Linked DNA regions of Homo sapiens: regions 1 and 2 are each linked to region 3. Evidence: promoter capture Hi-C in human tissues and cell types (Jung and others, 2019). All regions are on one chromosome and are shown on one strand. The core of a region is centred on a gene start or on the middle of the fragment in contact, and the rest is flanking DNA. Distances in the headings are between cores, read along the strand shown.

Region 1 (4,782 bases), core at 959-3,458, 150 kb before region 3:
ATTGTGCCACTGCACTCCAGCCTGGGTGACAGAGCAAGGCTCTGTAGAAAGAAAGAAAGAAAGAAAGAGAGAGAGAGAGAGAGAGAGAGAGGGAGGGAGGGAGGGAGGGAGGGAGGGAGGGAAAAGAAAGAAAGAAAGGAAGGAAGAAAGAAAGAAGGAAAAAATGGGAGAAAATATGAGTATGTTTGCGCACAGAATACGTGTTTTCATGTCCAGTGTCTAGCAGGGTGAATGGTACACAGTAGGCATTTGATAAACATGAAGGAAGGCAGGGAGGGAGATTATCAACTCAAGTTGTCCCAGAACCCACGAGTTGCTGAAGTACTGACCGTACTTAGGGTACCCAGTAGAACCACAGCTGACTCGCACTCACCGCCAATTAACTGGTAAAGTTTGGAAAAGCCTAAGTTCCTTAAAGCCAAGTTCAAATCCTTCCCATCATAAGATATCAAACTTCTCCCACACAGCTGGAATTTATTCTGTTGTGTGTGTGGTAAAACACACATAACATAAAATTTACCATCTTAACCATTTGTAAGTGTTAAGTGCAGTGGCACTGAGCACATTGTTGTGCTATTATTAGCCCCATCCACCCACAGAACTCTTTTCATCTTGCAAAACTGAAACTCTGTACCCATTAAATAACTTCCATTCCTTACTGCCCCCAGCCCCAGGCAACCACCATTCTATTTTCTGTCTGAATTTGACTATTCCAGGCACATCATGTAAGTGGCATCATGCAGTATTTGTCTTTTTGTGTCTGGCTTACTTCACTTAGCACAATATCCTCTCAAGTTTCATCTATTTCATAGCATAGGTCAGAATTTCCTTCTTTTTCGCAGCTGAATAATATTCCACTGCATGTATACACTACGTCTTGTTTATCCATTCATCTGTTGGTGGACAGTTGGTGGATTCCTCCCTTTGCCATTGTGAATAACGCTGCCATGAACATGAGTGTGCAAATCTATCTCCGAGACTTTACTTTCAATTCTTTTGGGTATATACCACTGATACTACTTTTTAGCAATGAAATTTCCCCTGAATGAGTCAATCATTTAGCTGTCAAATGATTCAAGAATGCAGCAATTGTGAACTTATTCATATTTAGATTAGACTGTACCCTGTGCATACAGATAGCTATGAACCTGTGAGAACCCCTCTCCCAGTCACAGGCAGCTACACATTCTCAGTGAAAATCAGTGAAAAGGGTAGGGTTCCAAAGCCTGAGAGACCCAGGTGCAAATCTCAGGAGGAGCCCTTATTAGCTGTGTGGCTTATGCAAGACAGTGAACCAAAACATTCCTCAGTCTCTTCCCTGCAAACTGAGGAGTGAAGTGAAGGCTATCAGGAAAGTGTCCGAGGTGCCTGGTGCGTTGTGAGCACTCCGTAAACAGTGCACTTTCTCAGCTCTAAGATGCCCCTCCTTTGTTCACAATTTCACATTTCTAAAATCATATTTCCAAATTGAGGGTGTGCACTACCAGACACCAGCTTTTTCACTGCTGGTGCATTGACTGAACTTAGCCAAATGTCTCTGAAGAGACACAGAATTTCCCCAAGAAGATTCTGCGTTCCTGCAGGAGGAGAGGGATTTGGTGGGAAGCTTGCCCCGCACTGCACACCTTTTCCAAGCTGTGCCATCAGCGTTCCCTACAGTTCTCTTCGCCACTCTAAAGCTTAGGAGAAATAAAATCTGCTCCAGCCATCCATTTATTCAGCCATCCATCCCACACTTACCGAGGGACTGCCCTGTGCCAAACCTGATGTAGCTACTGGAAACCAGGAGATGACTAGAACAGGCCTCTTCTCCACAGGAAGTCACGGTGGAAGTGGGGGAGGAACAAAAGTAATAAGAATAGCAAACACTTACATGGGCATGTGCGCTAGGCACTGCTTCCAGTGCCACTGCCTAACTCATTAGTTCTCCCAGCAGCCCTAAGAGATAGTAAGTCATAACAATGACTTCCACTTACCGATGTGGAAACAGAGTAATAGAGAGTAACTTGCCCAAGTTGCACAGCTGGTAAACGATAGAGCTGAGATTTGCATTCCAGCCCTATGACTCCAGAGTCCATACTCCTAACAGGGCTGAGAGTCAAGAAATTTTAACCTCGGGTACTACACAGGCACCAACCAATCAGAACAAATGCCAGGGATTTTTATGATGCTCTTATATACCAGCTGAAACTCAGCAAGCCCTGCACTAACCACGTTTAACCTCTAGACTGTAGGAATCTAAGTTTAGACTAATGGGAGTCCTGTGGCAGAGGCATGAAGGAAGGTCCCCACCAGCACCCAAGATTCAGCAGGCCCAGCAGTCATTGGCCAACAATCACTGACTGCTTGTGGAACTTTAATACCTTTGCAGGTTGACAAGCGGTGAACCTGTAAATAGCTCTCCTTAGCATGGTTCTCCATAAATCACCGAGGGCCATTGTCACACATGGGATCTCATGTAACCTTCAAGACAGCCTATGAAGGAGGCCTCATTGCCTTCCCAGTTGACAAAGGAGTAAAGTGGGGCTCAGTGGGGTGAAGTGGTGCAATGAACTCCAAGTCAAAAATGTACACCTATCTGTCAAAGTCCCCTGTTCAGCTCAAATAAAGGAATTACTCTCAAAGAGAACATCTTTGACCCAATTCTATATGCTTGCCCAAAGCAATGGAGCTGGGATTGAATCCCACGCCTTTGTCTCCCACCAATGAGCAGCTCAGCTATCAGGGTCCCTTCCTTTATTTTCTGCCTGCTGTCCCCTTCTCAAGGTATCTACCCCCAGCCTCTCTGGTCAACCCGCACTATCAAAAACAGAACCCCTGTGGCTCTCCACTGCCTTGTCCTGCTCCGTTCTTCTTCAGGGCATTTATGATGATCTGGAATAGTAGTAGATTTATTTGTTTTGTGGCTATTTCTCCCTAACAAGAATATAAGTTCCATGAGGGTAGGAAATGTGTTTGTTTTGCTTTTTGCTGTGTTCTGGTGCATTGTACATGGTCAGTGAGATTTAGTCCAATGAATGAACACGTAAATGAATGGAAGATGGGTTAATGAATTACTCTCTTGTCTAAGAAGCCAGAAACAAGGGCTAGGAACTCACCTGGGACCCTGCAGGTCTAAGGTCCCCCCCAAGCTTGGGCTCAAGACTAATAGAAAACCTTGACCTCTTGCCTTCCCTTTCCCAGTCTCCTCCTCTTTCAAGGGCACTCTGACTTCAGGGTTCCTTTTGAAAAACACCCCATAGCTTCAGATCTTTCTCACTCACCCATTGCCTCGCACACATGCACACTTCCCTACTTTTACCCCAAAACAGAAGCAGACCTGGTCTATCTACGCAGGTACCTTGTAATCCTGTAACCTCATTCATGCACAGGCATTGGTGAATGATAACAGGTAACAGAAGTGATTTTTAAAAGGGCCTTCCAGTGACAACGTCGTGACATACTAGAATGGATGACTGTAGGAGTTTCTGGTGTCCTGGAAACCTCATATGTCTCATCATACACACACAAAAATGCCTGTGGATGTCATTCATTCATTTATTCATTTATTCACTCGATCGTTCAGCAAATGTTTACTAAGTGCCTTCTGCCTGCCAGGAAATGTCCTGGGTGCTGAGAATACACAGTGAGCAAGACAGCCCAGGTCACTGCTCTCAGAAATCCACCATCTAGTTGAAGAGGCAGAGCAGTAAGCAAAGACCTTGCCGAGGAGTTTAAATTCTTATTCTTACATTAGAACACAAGGTGGTAAGAGCACTAACAGAAATCTGTGCCGGGACCAGAGGCAGCTACCAAAGGAGTGGGGAGTCAAGGAGGCCTGCTGGAAAAACTGCAGTCTCTGATGGCTGTTGATGGTAGGCTAGGAGTTCACCAGGGAGCCAAGAGGTGTGGGTGTTCCAGGGTCTGCAATGATGCAGAGGTCTGAGGTGGCACAAGCAAGGCTGGCTCTGAGCCCACCCTGCTCCATGACAGCTTCAAAAATTGCTGAAGCTCAGCACAGCCAAGGCATGTGTACCAGGCAGGAGGAAAAAACAACAGGGCAGGGTGTCCTTGGGACAGATTAGATGCCAGTAATTCTTCCCTCCTTTTGGAATGTTAGAAACCAAGTATGTGTTCCTGGGGTTCTCATTCTCTATAAAATTGCCCAATTTCATTCTTATAATAACCTACGAGGCAAATCAGCTGCCTCTGCACACAATTTCCCGTGCCGCCTTGACCCTGCCACATCCAAGGAGCTGTTTAAACAGTCTGCTGTCTTTTCCCCTGAATGTCAAGAGAAAGAGAGCTGATGGCATCAGCAGCCACAACCATTATGCATGACCTGAGAGTTTTCTTTGACCCGCCAACTAAGGTAAATGCCTTTTGACAAAGACACCCAAGACTTCACTTTTAATTCAACTTGAACCTAAGTTTCTCTCCAGAGCACTGTCTCCAAAACGCTCAATTGCCCAGTGCAAAGAATCATAGCTCTTTCCTTTTCTGGCTTTCTCTGATACAACAAGCTTACAGCAACCGTCAGAAAAGAAGGCAAGTAACATCTGTGGTGGAGACCAGACTATGAAATTAGTTCAAACATACAGCAAAGCACTGTGCTCACTGCAGAGAGACACATGCTGTTCCGTGGATGTGAGCCCATTCATGAGTCACCATGCATAATAGGGCATTGTTGAAAGTGTTGGGAACATGAAAAATTCCTCACTGCCCAGTTTGGCTAATGCTGGAGCTATATTTGCCTTCAGAAATGAAGTCAAACAGAGTTGGCTTAACTTCCAGTTGACAGGC
Region 2 (4,716 bases), core at 2,041-4,540, 130 kb before region 3:
TATGGTCCTGGCCTGGCCATTCAGCATACATATTCCATTACCCTGGCCACAGTGAGTGGTTTAGGATAGACACATGACCCAGGCCAGACCCAAAGCGCCAACCATGGGACTTTTGGAAGGAAAGAGGAGCTCTCTTATTGGTAAGATACAGGCCTGGAACTGCTATAGCCACCACCAATGGACAGACTGCCCAAGAATGAAACAAGCACAGAAGAAAGCCAGGGCTAAAAAATGGAAAGACCAGCCTGGGCAACATAGAGACCTCATTTCTATTAAAAGTAAAAAAAAAAATCAGTTTGGTGTGTGTGTGCCTGTAGTCCCAGCTACTCAGGAGGCTGAGGTGGGAGGATCGCTTGAGCTGGGGAGGTCGAGGCTGCAGTGAGCCCCAATCACGCCACTGGACTCCAGCCTGAGCAAAAGAGCAAGACCCTGTCTCAAAAGAAAACAAAAAGATGGAAAGAGACAGATGCCTAAAGACTTTGTATGAGTACCTGATGAGTACCTGGATCCAGCTATGCCTGAATTTAGCAATATCCTGAACACTTCAGGTGTGTGAGCCAGTACATTTCTGTGTCTTCAGCCAGTTGAGTTGGGTTCTTTCCCTCCCCCACTGAAAGAGACTTGATGGAGATGCTTCCTTGTTAGCCACACTGTGCAGTTGCCCCTTTCCATCCTTCCATTGTTGAGGTTTAAATTTAATGTGAAGAAAAGGCATAGAATTTTCATGCTCCTCCACTGGCATTTCTGTTGCTGGCCTCTGCCATTTTGTTAGGCCAGTGATTCCAAACATTTTAGAGTAGCAAAGCCCATCATTGTTGGTCAGGAATATTGCATAGCATGTATTTATTACCCACGCTCTTATTATAGTCTCAGCAAGTGGTTAACCTTTCATTTTTCTTGGGAAAAAATGAGCATGTCACTCCCTCATTTCTCTGCCTCTCTCAGGATTCAGAGATATGACAAAGTTAAATTGGGTATTTCTGAACTTTACAAAGTTAAAAACAAATCAGCTCATCCCCCTTCCCAAAAAAATTATCTTGTCACAGAGGGCCCTCTTCCCTCCAACGTGTTCCAAAGCAATAGCACAAATGCACGCATCTGGCCAAATGCCATCGGCTGCTGTCTGAGGGCCATCTGAAAAGCAGCCTCTTCTTCCGGCCACCCCATCCCCAGCTGTCAGGGATCCCCACTTGGAGTCCTCATGCTCCTGAAATGATATGTCCAGGGCAGATGTCGCAGGGCTCACGTCAGGCACGAAGGCAGTGCTCCCCTGCTCAGCTGTCATGGCCGATTGAGACACAGTCCCAACCCAGGGCTCCCTCAGAGAGCCACCAAGACTGGACTGAGCTTCCCCCACAGAGATGCTGCTGACACGCCAGGGGTGCATCCTGGCTCTCCAGACTGGCAATGCTGATTCTAATGAAGTCACAGCCTTCACTGTTGTTCCTTTTTTAAATAATTGGGGTGAAATGCACATATCATAAAATTGAACCTCTTAACCATTTTGAAGTGTACAGTCCAGTAGCATTAAGTACAGTCATACTGTTGTGCAACCATCACCACCATCCATCCCCAGAAAATGTTTCATCTTGCAAAACTGAAACTCTATATCCATTAAACAATACTCCCCCATTTCCTCCTCCTCCCAGTCCCCGGCAACTACCATTCTACTTCTGTCTCTATGAATTTGGCTACTCTAGAGGCCCTCCTATAAGTGGAATTAGACAGTATTTGTCCTTTTGCATCTGACTTATTTCACATAGCACAATGTCCTCAAGATTCATCTATGTTGTAGTATGTGTCAGAATTTTCTTCCTTTTTAAGGCCGAATAATATTCCATTGTATGTCTATAGCATATTTTGCTTATTCATTCATCTATCGACGGACACTTGGTTGCTTCCACCTTTTGGCTATTGCGAATAATGCTGCTGTGAACAGAGGTGTACAAATATCTCTTCAAGACCATGCTTCCAATTATTTTGGGCATATTCCCAAAAGTAGAATAGCAATAACACAGTAATTCTTTTTTTTTTTTTTTTTTTTTTTTTTGAGATAGAGTCTCACTCTGTCACCCAGGCTGGAGTGCAGTGGCGCAGTCTCGGGTCACTGCAACCTCCATCTCCCAGGTTCAAGCAATTCTCCTGCCTCAGTCTCCCAAGTAGCTGGGACTACAGGCATGCGCCACCACGTCCAGCAAATTTTTGTATTTTTAGTAGAGACAGGGTTTCACCATGTTGGTCAGGCTGGTCTCCATCTCTTGACCTCATGATCTGCCTGCCTCGGCCTCCCAAAGTGCTGGGATTACAGGCGTGAGCCATTGCACCCGGCCTATCACACAGTAATTCTATGTATAATTTTTTTTGAAAAACCTCCATGCTTTTTTCCACAGTGGCATTTTACACTCCCACCAGCAGTGCACAGAGATTCCAGTTTTTCTACATGCTTACCAACACTAGTTATTTTCTGGGTTTTTGACAGTAGCCACCCTAATGGGTGTGAGGCAATATCTCATTATGGTTTTGACTTTTACTGTTACTCTTATTGTAACAGTCACTACTATAACTTTCTCATGTTGTACCAAGTTTGGTCTTTTAATAGTTAAGAGATGGGCTTCCTTCACTTCGAAGATAAATGATCCTTGGTGTCTAAACAACTTACTACAAAAGGCCAAAGTTCTTTTAAGAGAGATATTCTAAGGCTAAGTTACAGGGGCCCAAAGATCCTAAGTGATTAGCCCCATCCTCCCCTTTTCCAAAAAGGAAACAGAGGTCCCAGAGGGATCATGCAGTGGTTAAGAAATATGAACTGGGCAAATCTCGCTTGAAAACCTGGCTCTGCCACTCACGAGTTGCAGGACCATGGAGCTGTCTCTCAGCCCCTCTACACTTGGCTTCTTTTCACAGCGCAGTGGATAGGAACAGTGTCTCTCTTACAAGGTTGCTGCGAGAGTTAAGCTGTGTGCCAAATGCAGTGCCTGCCACAGGACAAGGGCTTGGTAAATTCCAGCAGCTCTTACGGTTGTTGCCTTCTTATTCTTATGAAATAAGTTGCCCAAGTCCCATGCCTAGTGAATTGGTTTCTTGATTCCCAGTGTTTGCCCTGGCCATGATGGTTCTTAACCCCACTTTCCCCAATGTCTATGCTCACCTTAAACAACTCTGGCTGTTACTTACTGTAACTGATGGCCTGGTTTCTAAAATGTACACTGAACTCATTCCCTCAATGGTACATTGAGTCAATCCAGCACAGGAAGAGAGAGGATCGGCTGCTGCAAATTCTGAAAGGTCCACAGTAGCAGAAGGCAAAGTGACAAATGACAGAGGTAGGGAAGGGTCTCATAAAACCTTTGACCTCAAGGAAGTTCACATGATCTGAAATGATGCTGCTCCCACATTCCTGGGGAGTTGCTTCCTCTTTGCATCGATTCCGTCATGCATTTCTCTGATATTTTACAGCTTACAAAGATTCCCTCCATTGATAAACAGTTGTTGAGAACCTACTCTGATTGAGCACGATGTGCCAAGTGCCAGAGTCACAGCCAAGAGCAATGCCAGAGGGTCTGGGGAAGGAGACAGACATGATTCGGAAAGTGACACCAACCAGTGGAAAACCGCAACTGTGCTAAGGGCAAGGAAGGAGGGAAGCAGGTGCCCTGAGAACCCACAAGAGGGGCTCTCAGCTGAGCTCTAACAGATGAGTCACAGGAAGTGTTCACAAAGTAGCATATAAAATAGACATTTATTTTGTGCTTCACTCCTCTCTGTCTGTGGGTCTTGAACATTTGCTGTGTGTAGATCCTTCACCAACCCTGCTGTACTTAAGGCTCAGGCATTTGATGAACTCAGGGGATTATGGAAAGCACGCAACTTGTCCATTAAAAGGACAGTGGGCAAATCAAGTGTAGTTTCTCCCAACTGCAGAATACTATGCAGCTGTTAAGAGGAATTAAATACACCTGCACAGGCTACTGTGAAAAGATTAGCACAATAAATTAGAAAGTGAAGAATTCCTGGTGTAGAAAAGTATTAGTAAATGATTCATTTATGTAAGGAAGAAAATCATATACACAAATATGGGTATAGTCAGACTCTTTTTTTGGAGGGACACAAGAAATTACTTATGTTAGTTTGTTAGGGCTGCCATAATAAAGTACCACACATTGAATGGCTTAAACAGCTGAAACATATTTTCTAGCAGCTCTGAAAACTTGAAGTCTGAGATCAATGTGTTGGCAGGGGTGGCTCCTTCCGGGAACCCTGAGGGGGGAATCTGTTCCACTCCGCTCTCTTTGGCTTGTACATGGCCATCTTCTTCCTATGTCTCTTTACACTGTCTTCCCTCTATGTAAGTCTCTGTGTCCAAATTTCCCGTTTCGATAAGAATATCAGTCATACAGGATTAGGGCTCATCTTAATGACCTTATTTTAACTTGATGACCTCTGTAAAGACCCTATCTCCAAATAAGGTCACATTCTGAGGTTCAGGGGGGTTAGGACGTCAACATATGAACTTGAGTAGGGGACACAATTCAACCCATGGCATTGCTGGGAGACAAAAGGGATTCATCTTTTACTTCATATATTCCTCTATAGTATTTATACTTTTATGATAAGCATACATTTCAATTACAAAAACAACTTTTAGTCCAAAAAGTGGGTGGAAATTTAAATCCTGCCACAAATCAAGCACCAAGTGAAAACATTGGGGTTGTATAT
Region 3 (4,320 bases), core at 1,145-3,644:
ATGTAGGTCCTCTGAGGGCAGCCCCAGGGGCCCCATGGTAGCAAAAGGTAGGCCTAGCCAAAGGCTGGGCAAAGCAGGAGCAGGGAGAGCTCCATCCCCCTGGCCATCGCTCCAGGTATCCTGGGAGGCCTCTGCCCAGCACACTAAGTGTCTGCATCTGGCAAAAGAGGGCTTGCTCCTGCCCCATGGAGCTCTCTCCTATTTCTGCTTCTCAAAAAAAAACAGGTGACCAGATGCCTTCTTAATGTCAATATTGCTCATGTTCTCTCCTACAAAAGAGGCCACATAGAAAGAAAGTCTACCCAGCTGTACCCATAAGCAGGAGTGGGACCAAATGGCTACTTGTTCTCAGGAAATTCAGAGCCTTAAAGAGTTAGTTAGGAGAGGCCAGAATGCCGCTGTGTCGTTTGTTTGCTTTGTTTTTAAGGATCTACAGGAGGTAGTTTTCCATAAACTAGGAAGCTAAGTTAACTATGCAAACACAAGCAGGGTGGGCAATGTGAACTGGCCGTTTTAATGTATTTGTACCCGCACGTCCTTGCACAAAAGATCCAAGGCTGCGCGGAGTAATTGCTATTAGAATAGTGGGCATGGTCCCTACCGCCGCAGGTTCGGACCTTCAAAGTGACAATTTATGGATGCTCCCTGGCGCTCCAGCGCAGGGGAAGCCCACTCTGAAGACGCCCTCCCCACCCCCTCCTCTCCTTCCTTCCGACTCAGGAGAGCTCGACACGCCGGATAGCTGCGGCCAGCCGTGGCCATCCTGGCCCCCCGCCTCCGCCTTCCCCACTCCCGCGTGCAGCCGGGACACGGGAAAGGAAAGCTTTGGAAGTCAAGCGCCGGCCAAAAGATGACCTGCCCGCGTGTCTCCTCGCCCCCTCCCCCAGCCGTGTCACATGGCGGCCCCAACCAGGCGGGCAGTGCGCCCCGCCGCGGAGACCCAGGGCCGCGTCGCCTGGGCAGTGGGTGATGAAACTTCCCAGGCGCATTACCGCAGAGGGCGCGGGCGGGGCGCGGGGCGGGGGTGGGGGATCGAGAGCTGGTACCGGGGCTCACCTGTTCTCCAGGAGGAGGGTGGGGACGGGGGGAGGGGCGAGTGCGCGCCAACGCCGGGTGCGTGCCCTGGGGCGCTTGGGCGCGGCGCTCGTGTCCCCGCCCTCCCCCAGCCCTGCGAGCCCCCCGAGCTGCGCCGTGGGGTGACGGGACCGAGAGCAGTTCCTGTCCCCGGCCCCGGCGCGGGGGAGACGTGAGCGTGCACACGTACACACACAGCAGGGGAAGAGGCGCTCCAAGCGGCGCCCAACTTTCTCCTTCCCTCCACGGGCCGGGTGAGAAAGTAGCCGGGGGCTATCCCGACCCGGCGGTTCTTGGGGAGGGGGCCGAACAAGAAAAGGGAGGAGATGGAGATAACTTCCCCGGATTTAGCTTTTTTGTCTTTGTTTTTGTTCTCACCACTTCCATCGGATGACTGGAGAGTAAAAGGGAACCCGGAGCGGGGTGGCGAGCAGCGCTTTGAGAAAATGCAGGAGTGTGTTTGGAGACGCGTAAAGTTGCCTTTCAAGCTCTGGCCTCCGGGCACGCGATGCTCCGCGGCGGGCTGACTCAGGGCTGCCTTGGGCCTCCCTGCCACCCTCCTGGAAATGATGCAAGTCCTGACTGTCACCTGGATCCCTGCAGCCCAGCCTGGAATGCGTCTGGATTAGGGGAAAGACGAGAAACGACACTCCAGGTGTTGCACGGCCCACCAAAGCGGGAAGATAGGGCAGTTGCTCAGACCAAATACTGTATCTAGTGCTTCTGCTCCTATCTTCAATCGTGGGGTTCTTTTTAATGCAAAGTGTCACAAGGCCAGGAATTCCCATGTGTGCTCAGTTGGCCCACAGCATCATTGTGCCTAGGAAACTGCTTCAATTTATCAAGTCCTCTGGGCTGGGAATCTCACTGAATTCCAAACGGCGGAAAGAGGAAACTTTCCCAACCCGATGTGGGTGTGACGCGAGCCAGGGGCCCCAGGGACACTGTCCCAGAGCACACCGTCCCCCTTTAACAGCAACTGGAGCTTGGATTCGCTCTTATATTGTACAGTCCTTTCGACCATTGCCCTGGAGCACCCGCACACGCGCACGCATCTCCGGCCGCGCTCACACACACTCATACACACGCACGCAAACGCGTGGCCGCCGCCAGGTCGGCAACTTTGTCCGGCGCTCCCAGCGGCGCTCGGCTTCCTCCTGTAGTAGTTGAGCGCAGGCCCCGCCTCCCGGCCGTGTTGTCAAAAGGGCCGGGGTCTCGGATTGGTCCAGCCGCCGGGACAACACCTGCTCGACTCCTTCATTCAAGTGACACCAGAGCTTCCAGGGATATTTGAGGCACCATCCCTGCCATTGCCGGGCACTCGCGGCGCTGCTAACGGCCTGGTCACATGCTCTCCGGAGAGCTACGGGAGGGCGCTGGGTAACCTCTATCCGAGCCGCGGCCGCGAGGAGGAGGGAAAAGGCGAGCAAAAAGGAAGAGTGGGAGGAGGAGGGGAAGCGGCGAAGGAGGAAGAGGAGGAGGAGGAAGAGGGGAGCACAAAGGATCCAGGTCTCCCGACGGGAGGTTAATACCAAGAACCATGTGTGCCGAGCGGCTGGGCCAGTTCATGACCCTGGCTTTGGTGTTGGCCACCTTTGACCCGGCGCGGGGGACCGACGCCACCAACCCACCCGAGGGTCCCCAAGACAGGAGCTCCCAGCAGAAAGGCCGCCTGTCCCTGCAGAATACAGGTAAGTGCATGTGCCCCCGCAGCCGGGAGCTACTGGGAGAGGACACCGTGCACCCACGCGGCGCGCCCCAGGCGTTTCGCCGGGAGCCAGGCGCCCACCCAGGGCCACGCAAACTCTTGGGATGGCACGGGACGTGCAAAGGGAAGCGCGAGGCAAGGCGAGGTCCGCGCCGGGCTCCGAGGGCCCGGAATCTGCACGTGCTAGCAGGGTGATGAAATGGCTGGGGCAGGACTTGTTGCTGTCCTCCCCAGGGTCGAGGGGAAATGAAGCAGCGTCTGACGCTGCCAGCGCCAGCCCCCGCCCCCGAATCCCGGGTCCGGTGCAAAGCGCGCTTCATCCCGGCCGGCACGCGGGAGGCCCAGAGGGTCCCCGGAGCTGGGCTGCGCCCTGCGCCCGGAGAACTTCTCTTCCTGGCCTGCCGGCCTCAGTAAGGGTGCCGCGTCTTCCCCCTCCTCAAAAGATGCCCGACATCCCAGAACTTTGCCGGCGAGACAAATGGCATTGCGAACTTTCCCCCTGGGGGCACTGCTTTCGGAAGGGAGCGTGAGGGCAGCGCAAAGCGTACCTCCGCGGTGCTGCCGCCATCCCCAGCTCCTGGCCAGGTCAGCAAGCCAAGAAATGGTGACACGACCCGAACCGTGCGCCTCCTCTGCTCTACCGGCTCTTGGCTCACCGGCAAGCTGCAAAGCAGAGCCAGGCGTGCAGGGCACGGGGCTGGCCCTTTTCCCAGCTCGGAAAGAGAAAGAAAATCTGCCTACAGCTCCTTCGCTCCACGACCCCTCCCCCGACTTTGGGGGGCCGTGTGAACGCGGCAGCGGCGGCGTGCGTGCGCTCACCGCACGAGCTGGAATGCACGAGTGCCCATTAGGGACGCCCCAAGTGAGTGAATGGCGGCCCTGTGCGGTCCTGCCCCGGCGGCGCGTGGGGTCTTACGGATCCTGTCGCCTCCACATGCTGGGGCCGGCACCCCCACCACCCCGAGACCCTCGCCCACCCTCCCCCTCCTCTGGCGCTTCCTCTGAGAACTGAACCTGATTCTCGGTGGTCGGTGACCCTCAACAATACACGCCCCTCATTCTCTGGCTAGATTTAATCTGATGCGGGTTATCTGCTCCGACCCCGCCCTTCTTCCAAAATATACTTTTCTGATGTAATTTTGTGGTTGATTTAAATCAGAGACTTGGGTAGTGGAAAGGGAGGGAAGAGGCTTTGCACGCTGCAGCCTGACAGTTAACTCCCTCCGTCTGCCCCTTCCGAGAGAGGACTGGGGGCCACATTCGGTGAAGGGCTGCAAGCTTCCTCCCGGGCTGCGGGAATTCTAGGGGATTGGGTGATACCTCACCCGGATCCCTAATTAAAAGGAGCCTGCAACCTCTGATAGTGGCGTTTCTGAAGGCTCGCCCCCAGCTGACTCCACTCCTAAGCCTGCTCGCCAACCGCAGCTTCCCTAGCTGGTATTTTAATGCGAAGGGTTGGGAGGCACTGCCTTAATAGGAATTTTGTTTTGATTTTTAGGTGTTGAATCATAAAGCTGAATTGAAACTGCTTTTTAGAT

The links. The method cuts DNA at HindIII sites, captures the fragments that hold promoters and counts their contacts. A contact is called where the count stands out against the background at its distance.
Region 1: a fragment that was not itself captured here is called in contact with the fragment with the promoter of STC2 in region 3 in 1 of the 25 tissues and cell types used here (H1 embryonic stem cells).
Region 2: a fragment that was not itself captured here is called in contact with the fragment with the promoter of STC2 in region 3 in 2 of the 25 tissues and cell types used here (IMR-90 fibroblasts and aorta).

What each region holds. Positions count from the first base shown.
Region 1 is chr5:173,472,292-173,477,073 of GRCh38, reverse strand. All of the region lies in intron 4 of LOC105377732 (a long non-coding RNA gene), which reads right to left. Among named protein-coding and RNA genes, the nearest start is that of LINC02995, 100 kb to the left of the region's middle. The HindIII fragment of the contact is 3,218 bases long and covers 600-3,817 here.
Region 2 is chr5:173,455,875-173,460,590 of GRCh38, reverse strand. The region is part of intron 3 of LOC105377732 (a long non-coding RNA gene); the gene reads right to left. Among named protein-coding and RNA genes, the nearest start is that of MIR8056, 110 kb to the right of the region's middle. RefSeq lists an enhancer at 4,615-4,716. The HindIII fragment of the contact is 6,989 bases long and covers 1-4,716 here.
Region 3 is chr5:173,326,488-173,330,807 of GRCh38, reverse strand. It overlaps STC2 (stanniocalcin 2), which reads left to right and starts at 2,394. Exons shown (of 4, transcript NM_003714.3): 1 at 2,394-2,765. The coding sequence starts at 2,615. LOC124901137 (a long non-coding RNA gene) reads right to left here and starts at 2,209. Exons shown (of 2, transcript XR_007059056.1): 1 at 1,057-2,209. RefSeq lists a silencer at 981-1,200. The HindIII fragment of the contact is 8,569 bases long and covers 1-4,320 here.